Linked DNA regions of Homo sapiens: region 1 is linked to region 2. The links are contacts of gene promoters, found by promoter capture Hi-C in blood cells and fetal thymus (Javierre and others, 2016). All regions are on one chromosome and are shown on one strand. Each heading gives the region's core, a stretch centred on a gene start or on the middle of the fragment in contact. The rest is flanking DNA. Distances are from core to core; before and after follow the strand shown. Region 1 overlaps ZNF236-DT (ZNF236 divergent transcript). Region 2 holds the start of MBP (myelin basic protein).

What was found. Contacts are between HindIII fragments. The CHiCAGO score rates a contact against its expected background, and 5 or more counts as called.
Region 1: a fragment that was not itself captured here is called in contact with the fragment with the promoter of MBP in region 2 in 3 of 17 cell types (monocytes, erythroblasts and total CD4 T cells); the score reaches 6.2 in monocytes.

The regions. Positions count from the first base shown.
Region 1 is chr18:76,801,723-76,808,450 of GRCh38, forward strand. All of the region lies in intron 2 of ZNF236-DT (ZNF236 divergent transcript), which reads right to left. Among named protein-coding and RNA genes, the nearest start is that of ZNF236-DT, 17 kb to the right of the region's middle. RefSeq lists a silencer at 554-603. The HindIII fragment of the contact is 441 bases long and covers 1,524-1,964 here.
Region 2 is chr18:77,131,284-77,135,270 of GRCh38, forward strand. It overlaps MBP (myelin basic protein), which reads right to left and starts at 1,500. Exons shown (of 9, transcript NM_001025101.2): 1 at 1,297-1,500. RefSeq lists a silencer at 465-1,764. The HindIII fragment of the contact is 15,459 bases long and covers 1-3,987 here.

The sequences.
Region 1 (6,728 bases), core at 494-2,993, 330 kb before region 2:
CACGCACGACCGTGACAGGCGCAGTCTTGAGGACACTGGCTTTGAGAGCAGCTGAGGGACTGGGCAAAGAAGGGGCTGCAGGTATGGGGGTCAGGCCAGCCCAGGGGAAGTGCGCACGGGTGTGCGGGGGGGTCATTCAGGGCCCTGACGGAGCTAAGGGGAGGATTTAGCCCTGAGTCGGCTCTGGGGTGTGGGGTGGCGGGATGGGGTGCCCTCCCCGGGGCCAGGGCGAGCAGGGTGCGGGGCTCCTGGAGGCTAGCAGGATTAAGGTCGTTTTTAGGATGAGTGAGCTCTGCAGGTTCCCTGCTTTCAACCCGGAAGGAACCTGGGCCCACGTGGGAGTGGGATTGGGGGGTGAGACCCGCAGCCCACGGAAGGGGCGCTGAGACGCGCGGCCGCGAGGGTCAGGGGTGCCCCACGGGAGCGTGCGGCTCATATTATTAGGAAGGTGTCCAGTGCGTCGTGCCCCGGCCGGGCGCCAGGTGGCGGCAGAGGCCGGTGCGGCGCAGCTTCTTCGGCCGCGGGACAGCGGTGCCCCCAGGGTAGGAGGCTGGGGCTGGGCTGGAGCAGAGCCGGAGGGAGGAGTGCGGCCAACAAAAGACCATCCGCGAGCGCCTGAACTTGGGTGTGGAGTTGTATTTTAGGATATGTTAAAAAGTTAGGAATATTAAGTAATTGGCACTTGGCCGGGAGCGGTGGCTCACACGTGTTATCCCAGCACTTCAGGAGGCCGAGGTGGGCGGATCACCTGAGGTTGGGAGTTTGAGAACATCCTGGCCAACATGGCGAAATCCTATCCCTACTAAAAATACAAAAACTTAGCTGGGCATGGTGGTGCGCGCCTGTAGTCCCAGCTACTAGGGAGGCTGAGGCAGGAGACTCCGTCGCAAAAAAAAAAAAAAAAAAAAAAAAAGGCACTTAATCCCAGACTGAAACCCTCTTTTCAGACTCTACATTAAGATCTTAAAGAACTTAGGCCCAGGCAGGCGGGTCACTTGCAGTCAGGAGTTTGAGACCAGCCCGGGCAACATGGCAAAACCTGTCTCTACTAAAAATACCAAAATTAGCCGGGCTTGGTGGTGCGAGCCTGTAATCCCAGCTACTCCGGAGGCTGAGGCAGGAGAATTACATGAACCCGGGAGGCAGAGGTTGCAGGGAGCCGGGATCAGGCCGCTGCATTCCAGCCTGAGCGACAGAGCGAGACTGTCTCAAAAAATAAATAAATAAAATAAAATAAAATAAAGAGCTTAAAGAACTTAAGAAAACACCAAATACTTCAGAGGTACCAGTGGCAATGTAATTAATGAGGATATTCAAGGAAGGTGACATAATTGCCAAGGTAAAAATAATTAAACAATTTCCAAAAGTCTATTTCAGTGAAGGAAACATTTGTCTTTAAGGGAAACATCAATGAAAATTATGTTTATGGCAAAAATGAGCCCTTTCTGCAAGCTTCATTTAGAAAATTGTGGGCATAATTACCATTTTACACAAAATAACTCTGTAGAAAGCTTTTTGAAATAAGCTTCTATTGAAATAAAATGCCAATTAATTACCCATTTAACTTATTAAATGAGAACTATAGGGTGCTAATTTTTAAATATTTTTTAAGTTGCTTTGAAATAATACCTTTTCTTTGAGACTTGAGAACATATATAGCTAATATGAACTGATGAAACAAAGATTTTTAATTACTTCTTTTATTATTTACCTATATATTCTGTATCAGTTAATTTCATTGCTTAAATTATTAATGTCTAATATGCCACTTGAAGCATTCATATTCTGAAAATGATGTAAGTTACACATGTAGGTTGGCCGAAAGTATTATATACTAGGACACAGCGGAGTTTGGGAGTGTCTGCTGCCTGTCCAGGAAGCTGCAGGTTTATGAGTTGTAAATGTAGGAGAATTCAGTTCAGTATAAATAGTTTAGCTTCCTGTTATATTAGGATAGGCAGTTAAGCTTATGTTTTTGCCATAGACAAATTATCATTATCTGTCAGGCCTACAGTTTAGGTTTTGACGTAACTCTTCAAGTACAAATGGAGAATGCATCCCCAGCAGCACTGCAGTCCTCGTTCACACCGAGTTTCGGTACAGTCAGGGGTTTTGAAGTCAGTACCACGGGAGACGCAGACGGAGGATGAATGAAAGGCACAGAAAAATCCTAAGGTAGAAATGGGGGGAACGGAAAAGCAGACAGACACTAGAGGGCGCAGGAGGAAAGTGGGTCGGAGTCCTGGAAGAGGAGGCGGGCTGGGTGAAGGAAGACAGTGAAGAGGGCACTCTGAAAAACCCATCCGAATCTTTCAGTGTAGGTAGGCACCACCCACAGCATGTTGTCATTGCAAACTGGTTCCTTCCATACGTCCCGAAAGGCTCTCCATGGTAGCTTACATCTCTCTATTTGACACTTGATGGCTTTCTTAAGGTATTTAGGTCCATTTACTAAAAATGACTCATCACTTGTTAATTAAATAAGGTTTATACATTTTTTTCATTTTAATTTCAAACATAGGAGATAAAGAAAAAAGGTGCTTGTGGCCAGGCACGGTGGCTCACGCCTGTAATCCCAGCTGAGGGGAGGCCGAGGCGGGAGGATCACCTGAGGTCAGGAGTTTGAGACCAGCCTGGCCAACATGGTGAAACCCTGTCTCTACTAAAAATACAAAAGTTAGCCAGGCGTGGTGGTCCTAATCCCAGCTGCTCGGGAGGCTGAGGTGGGAGAATCTCTTGAGCCTGGGAGGCAGAGGTTGCAGTGAGCCAAGATTGCGCCACTGCACTCTAGCCTGGGCAACAGAGCGAGACTCCATCTCAAAAAGAAAAAAAAAAAAAAGAAAAAAAGAAAAAAGAATAAAAGTGCTTGTTCACCCGTACTTTGTGCATGTCAAGTGATATTGAAAACCAAATCTGTAGGCTGTGCCTGGTGGCTGACGCCTATAATCCCAGCACTTTGGGAGGCCAAGGCGGGCGGATCACCTGAGGTTGGGAGTTCAAGACCAGCCTGACCAACACAGAGAAATCCCATTTCTATTAAAAATACAAAATTAGCCCAGCGTGGTGGTGCATGCCTGTAATCCCAGTTACTCGGGAGGCTGAAGCAGGAGAATCGCTTGAACCCTGGAGGCAGAGGTTGCAATGAGCCAAGATCGCGCCATTGCACTCTAGCCTGGGCATCAGGAGTGAAAAAAAAAAAAAAAAGAAAACCAAATCTGCAGACGAACTTGAGTGCCTGTGTAACAGGTTGTGTTGTCTGTTGTCTATTGTGTTGTGGACTTGTGTTGTCCATATGCCCTTTATGCAAGTTATTTACCAAAATAGCGCTTTTTGAATCGTGTTTTCCATTTACTATTTCATAAGACATAGTATGTATCTATATTATAAAGTTAAGAACAGCAGAAAAATGTATTTTCATTTTACAAGAATGACTTCAATTTAAGTTAGTTTTTATTCACCAAAATCCATAATGTTCCATGTGTCACAATAAAACAAAGCAGACTTTGCCAGCGTGAATCCACTTTTACTGAAGATGAGGGTCATTCATGGACCTAGAGGTTACAATAGTCAAAGTGTTCTGCACGAGAACAAACACACAGATGTCTTTGAAATGTGATGCAAAAGTGCAGACTGCTGCCTCCTACTGATGAAAAGGAAATGAGTGAGATGCTATGAGTCACTAATTGTGAACTAGTCAGTCGACAACTCCAAGAGCCCACTTCATGCTGGTGACGAGGTCCACCAACGATGGTCTGGCATGTGGGGGCCTTAGTTGAAAGACAGGAGAGGTGGATCAGAGACAGCTAGAGGAGCAGGCATTTCCCGAGTGCTGTAAAGGGGGACTCATCCCGCTAGGAGAATGTCTATTAGGGAATTCAGACCAAGTTCTGGGAAGGAATCCACAAGGAAGTCTCCGGGAGCAAGGAAGAAGGGGAAAGGAGAGGCAGCTGGGAAAATGCGAGACACACACATCCACCCCTTCCCCAAAACCCTGGCTTACACACTCGTGAGAGCCTCCCGTGGCTCAGGGAAGTCTTAGGGGGTCTTAGGAAACATCACACATTTCACTTTCATCTGTCCACCAGTTAGCTACACTCGGGCTTCCAGATCATGAATTTTTTTTTCTTTTTAAAGGGAGTCTTGTTCTATAGCCCAGGCTGGAGTCCAGTGGTGTCATCTCGGCTCACTGCAACCTCAGCCTCCCAGGTTCAAGCGATTCTCCCACCTCATCCTCCCGAGGAGCTGGGACTACAGGCACGCGCCACCATGCCCAGCTAATTTTTGTATTTTTCGTAGAGACAGGGGTTTCACCATGTTGGCCAGGCTTGTCTTGAACTCCTGACCTCCTGATCTGCCCGCCTCAGCCTCCCAAAGTACTGGGATTACAGACATGAGCCGCCGCGCCTGGCCAACAGGTGTTTCTTAAAAGCAGAAGCAGAGAGAGGGCAGGAGAGAACAAACAGGAGGGGAGGGATGTCTTCCGGACACTGGGCTCTCTCCTCAGGAGAGAATGAGGCCTGAGGTGGGCACAGGGCCCTCTGGGTGTGTAACAGGCCCAGGGCAGCCTCGCCAGCCTCCATTGCTTGTCCATAAGCAAAGCATAACATTATGTGTAAAAACAAACATCATCACAAGATAGGCCAGGCACCGCCTTGCGACAGCAGCCTTGTGGCTACTGGATGTGTGTGGTTGACCTCAGTAAGGTAGGCGCCCTTCTCTGCAGGCCTGTCCAGACAGCTCCGCACCATGCTGCTCAGGATCAGGCCTGCAGTTCCACGAACTGGCCCCCTTGTGGGTTGCCTTCAGGAGCATACCTCTGACTCAGTGTCCCAACCTCCTCTGCCCTGCCCTGCCCGGGGCCCTCATGTGCACACACCCAGGATCTGCCCAGGGCCCTCTCTGCTCAGCCCACAAATACTGCTTCGTTCCCCTGGCTGACTGGCTGCACCTCCAGGTAAAGCAATGCTCTCAGGCCCCAGCCAGGTCATTCTTTACGGGGTTATTCTATGTACTGTGGGAGGTATAGCAGCACCGCTGGTCTTTACGATGACCGGTTGTGACATGTGAGCCTCAGTCCTCGCTATATCAGGGAGTAGCTTCCTCCGACTATCGGAATCACCCTTGCCTGATGGCATCTTCTCAGCCCCGTGCTTAGTAAGTCCCCACATTCCTTTACAGGTGTTCATTTAATTCCCTTTGGGTTGATTCTCAATAGTTTCTTTCTCTAAGAGTAACCTGATTTCTGACCCATACAATGACCACTGTGGTCCAGCGGACCATTTGCCTTTCCCACTTTTCCGTCCCCAACACGCACACGCTCCACCCCCTTGCATAAAATAACAGTAAGGAAGAAGCAGAATGAAATTCCACCCCTGCATCAGCTACTGGAGTTGGGGCTGAGTTTTGTCTGATTAAGAACTGCCGGATCAGTGGCTCACGCCTGTCATCCCAGCACTTTGGGAGGTCGAGGCGGGCAGATCACCTGAGGTCAGGAGTTCGAGACCAGCCTGGCCAACATGGCGAAACCCCGTCTCTACTAAAATGCAAAAATTAGCTGGGCGTGGTGGCACACATCTGTAATCCCAGCTACTCGGGAGGCTGAGACTGGATAATCGCTTGAACCCGGGAGGCAGAGGTTGCAGTGAGCTGGGATTGCGCCACTGCACTCCAGCCTGGGAAACAAGAGTGAAACTCTGTCTCAAAAATAATAATAATAATAAAAATAAATAAAGAAATAAAATCAATCACCGGGTAAATCCCCATGGGGATGCACTGCAGAGGAACCTGGGTGTTGGCGTGGCTCCGAAGAGGACCGAGCTAGGTGTAGCTGGAAGGGTCAACAAGAGGAAGGCATGAAGGGTCGATGTCAGCAGAAATACAACCTGGACAATCACCCTGGTGGCTGTGGTATGGATTGCGTGTCTATTTTATTTATTTTGTTTTGAGACAGAGTCTCACTCTGTCGTCCAGGCTGGAGTGCAAAAGCATGATCTTGGCTCATTGCAACCTCCACCTCCCAGGTTCAAGCGATTCTCCTGCCTCAGCTGGGATTGCAAGCCTGTGCCAAGCCCGGCTAATTTTTGTATTTTTGGTAGAGACTGGGGTTTCACTACATTGGCCAGGCTGATCTCGAACTCCTGACCTCAGGTGATCCACCCGCACTGGCCTCCCAAAGTGCTGGGATTACAGGCGTGAGCCACTGTGCCTGGCCAGGTTGTGTGTTTTCTCTGTTGGAGGCCCGCCCGGCATGCGCAGGACCCTCTTTAAGGCCTTCCACCTCTGCTCCTACATCTTCCACCGGGTTTGTTACAAATAGTCCCAGATCTATTGTACATCTTCTCATACTTTTTGCTATTGAAACTTCTTACAAAGTTTTCTCACCTGCCAGAGGGCAGAGAAACAAATTGTCATGAATGTTCTAGGACCTAGAACAGAGCTTGAGGCAGGGAAAGTATTCACAATGTTGTTGGCTGCAGTCAGGAATAATAAATCAATGTTGAGTGGATAAACTAATGAATAGTTTTGTTTGGTTTTATGCCAAAAAATAGTAATCTCCTGGGTAGCCGGGTACAGTGGCTCATACCTGTAATCTCAATGCTTTGGGAGGCCGAGGTGGGAGGATCCCTTGAGCTCAGGAGTTCAAGACCAGACTGGACAACATGGTGAAACCACATGGCTGCAAAACATCCAAAAATTAACCAGGCATGGTGGTGCGCATCTGTTTTCTC
Region 2 (3,987 bases), core at 250-2,749:
GTCCCCTGACTTGAGGGTGACCGTCCTTAAACTGTCCCCCGGAGCTTCGCCAGATAAAATGTCCAAAACACACACTGGAGTTCCCTGACGTTTCCTTCCTCTGAAAAACTCTCTTTCCAGGCGGGGCGTTCTGTGGTCAGACGAGGCAGAGGCCTCCCCGGAACGAAGTCCACGCCCCCTCCCCACCCCAGCACCCAGCGAGCCCACGCGCCCCTCACCCACGCGCAGAGAAACCGAGCACTTGTTGATTCTCACGTTGTTGCAATTGGAAAACGGAACAAGGAACCAGAGCTCGCCTGTTTCCAGCCAGAGTCGCACGGGGGTCCCCAAAGACGCTTGAACCTTTTCCCAAGCCCCACTCCACCTTCCAAAACGGGGGGGCTCAGGTGGACGCGAAAGGACACAAGGCGCTGCCCCCAGCACCCCGGAAAATCTAGTGTGGCGGCAAATGACCGCAGGTCACACACCCCGGCCTCGGGGGCCACGGAAAACGGACGCACCCGGCCCAGGACAGGCAGTGGGGCCCAGGAGGGGACTGCCGGGAAGACCCGGGCGGGCCGGCGGGCGGCTGCGGGCGGCGCACGTGGGCCCAGGTGGGCGCAGCGACGGGCCCGGCCGAAGAGCCCGAGACAGGCCCTGCGAAGGCGGAAGCCCGGACCCGGGCTCTCCTGGCCGCCCCTGGAGCTCAGAGGGAGACTGCGCTTCGCCCCGGGGGCAGGGGCAGGAGCGCGATCGCGCGCGGGGCCCCCGGGGTGTGATTAGCAGGCGCCGCGAGCCGGGAGGACCCCCCAGCCCGCCCTGGCAGCCAGCACCCTCTCCACACCCGCCCAGAGTGGCCGCTTTTGACCGCCGTCCCCTCCCACCCTAGACTCCTCCCCTCAGCCCCACGGCCCGAGGCCGAGCGGTTTCAGCGACCCTGGGACCGCCGGGCCTGGCTGGAGTCCACCCCTGGACACCTGTCAGGGTCGGGCCCCGGCGCTGTAAACCCGCGTCTACACCCGCGCCCAGCCCCCGCGCAATGGGGATCGGGGGCGGCGACTTGGGTTCGGGTCAGGGAGGCCGCCGGCTGCTACCTGCTCGGCCACCTGCTCCGCTGCCTAGGTTCTCCCTGCGCGTCCCCAGCCAAGAAAGGGACCCGGAGTCCGGGCGTCGGGATAGCTCCTGTCCCCGATCTTGCGCCCCCGGCTCCCGCGGGGCTCCGGTCCGGGGTCCCGCCCAGGTCTCCGCGGTCCCCACTCGGAGGGGCACAGAGACAAAGGCGGCAGAGCAGCCCGCCCGTCCCCGAGGGTCACCCACCGGCGCTGCGCTCGTTGCTCCGAGGCCGAGGGGCGCCGCGGGGTCCAAGGCCCTGCTCCGCCTGCCCAGGCCCGGGCAGGCTGGTCTCGGCTTCAAGCGCCCACGCGCGGGGTCCCCGGGCAGCCTGCTTCGCCTTCCGGGGTCGGGAGACAGGGGCCGCCGGGGCCGGAGGCTGCTTCTCTCTGGCGCGCGGCGGCGGTGACTGACGGCGGCGGCTCCGAGGGACGGGCGCGCACCCAGCTCCCCGGCCCCGCCTCCCCGGGCTTCCTGCGAGCCAGGTAAACACAGGCCGATCCCGCCGGGCCCGCCCCACCTGGACGCGGCCGCCGGCGCCGCCCCGGGAGCTCGGAGGACCCCGGGCCCGCTCTGCCCACGCGGAACTTGGGGGGCGCACGGGGCCCACGCGCAGGGTCAGACCTCGGAGGGGCGGCCTGGAGCCTCGCCCGCTGCCGAACTGGGCTCCGAACTGCGGCCCGTCGACCCTTCCCGTTCGGAGGCTTGGCCTCCGAACCCACCCCGACCCCGACCTCGACCTCGCGGGAGGGGTGCCAGGCCGCATCTCCCCGCGTCCTCAGGGGCTGGAAACCCCAGAAACTGCCGATAGACTTGGCGCAGCCCCGGCCCTGCAGGAGGAGAGTCAGCCCGGCCTGGAGGCGAAAGGAGCCGGCAGGTCCTCCCAAGGCACTCCCTCCCTCCCCTGGAGCCCAGGCCAGGCCCATGTCCGGCTGGCAGGTGCTCCTCTGGGAGCTGGGAGCTGGGAGCTGGGAGCTAGGGGCGCACCTTCTCCTGCAGGACCGGCGCAGGAAGCGTGCGCGGAAAAGACAGCAAAACACGCGCAGGTGCGAGGAAGCAGCCTGGTCCTGCAGCCCAGAGACATCGTGGTCTTCGTCGCTGTCTTGTTAAAAAGAAAAAGCCTGCTGTTTAGCCGTGACTCACCTGCACACAGATTTAGTGGTCAGAGATCTTTCTCTGGATTCTCAGCCTCCTGATGGTGGAAGAGGAGGAGGTTGGGGGAGTCCCAGAATGAGGCCCCGCGTTCCTCCTGACCTACACCCCCAGTCAGGGATCTGGATCTGGAGCTTCCAGGGGACCTGGAGCAGCCTGGGACCCACACAGTTTGTTAGGAAGTGAGGGAGAGGGGTGAGCGCTGTCCCGGCCCGCGCTGGGAGGCGGGACTCAGACTTCAGCACGGGGTCGGGGTTTCGGCCTAAAACCAGCCTCCCCCAAAGCCCCGGAGGATTTAGCAACTGTCTTCAAATGCTGGCAACTGGAAGAGAAATACTTCCACAACGACGCAAAAGCATTCAGTCTGGTCGTTTCCTCAGGAGAGATTTTCAAGTGGAGGGGGCAGGAGGGTTCTGAGACTTTGAGGCTGAAGGTGAGGAGGGAAAAGGGTGCCAAAGATAGTGTGTTTCTCCAATTTTTCTGCCCCACAACCTCACTTTAAGTCAAGGATGAGCGGAGTGGGCGTGGGAGGCTGGACAGCTGCCCTAGGAGCACGGGTGGTGACAATGAACCCGGGTGCACCCAGGTCCCAGCTCAAGTCACTCAAAGCTCAGGCTGGGGAAGCTGGAACACTAAAATGGGTCCCATTTTAGATACCTGCTTTAGCATCAGAAACAGCTTTTCCTCCCCAAAATATCTCTTGGCTTTATCTCAGTGACTCCACAGGGCGGGGCCACCTTCCTGCCTGCAGATGTCCCTGTGTGCTGGGCTCTGGAGCGTCCCTCAGGCCACAGTGACAGCTGCACACGCGGCCTTCTGTTTGGTGCTCCTTCTGCTGGTGTTACAGTGGTTTCCTGAAACACTACATATGCCAACAGTCAGCCCTACAAATGTCAGGCTCCACAAGTTCCAGTTAAAAGTCTTTTTAAAGTATTTATGAAATTTCACCGTGCATATTTTGTTGGGATAGAGTGTCCACACAGATGGGCAGCCAGGCAGTTTAGAAAAGTCATGGATTCTTCAAAGAAAACATGTAGATAATACTATTTAATAAAACAGTGGATTCACATTTGGATCAACTGGTCTTATCTTGGGGGCTTTCATGCCCTCCCGGTTAGAAAAAGGACCCCAGGTTGAGGACAGTGGATGGAAGAAACAGAGGCTGGCATTTCACTGTCGAGAGACAAACTTTCACATGAAGATGTCCATGTAGCCCTCAGCAAAGTGACAGAGATTCGTTGTGCTGAATAAAATTGAAAGGCATCTTTTGACAAGTAACCCATCAAAGCCTCATTGTGTCTTTGACATTTCTAAGAAAATCACATTGCAGTTACCCCCATCTTTCACAAGGTACCGGAGAGCAGAAAGTTTGACCTATCCATCATCTCATATGGCAGCAAATAGCAAAATGTTTTGTGCATGAAATACACTCAATAAATTTTTGTTAAGCTGAATTAAACTCCAAATTACCCAAGCTAAAGGAAGTAAATGAATCTAAATAGTTTCCAACAGACCTCAGACTGCACGAACTTTGAGTTTTCTTTAGTTTCCTCATCAACAGATTTGTCTTTGTTATGATGTTTTGCTTAGGAAAGGACTGAACTTTTTTTTTTCTTTCTTTTTTTTTTTTAGATGGAGTCTTGCTCTGTGGCCCAGGCTGGAGTGCAATGGTGCAATCTCAGCTCACTGCAACCTCCGCCTCCCAGGTTCAGGCAATTCTCCTGCCTCAGCCTCCCGAGTAGCTGG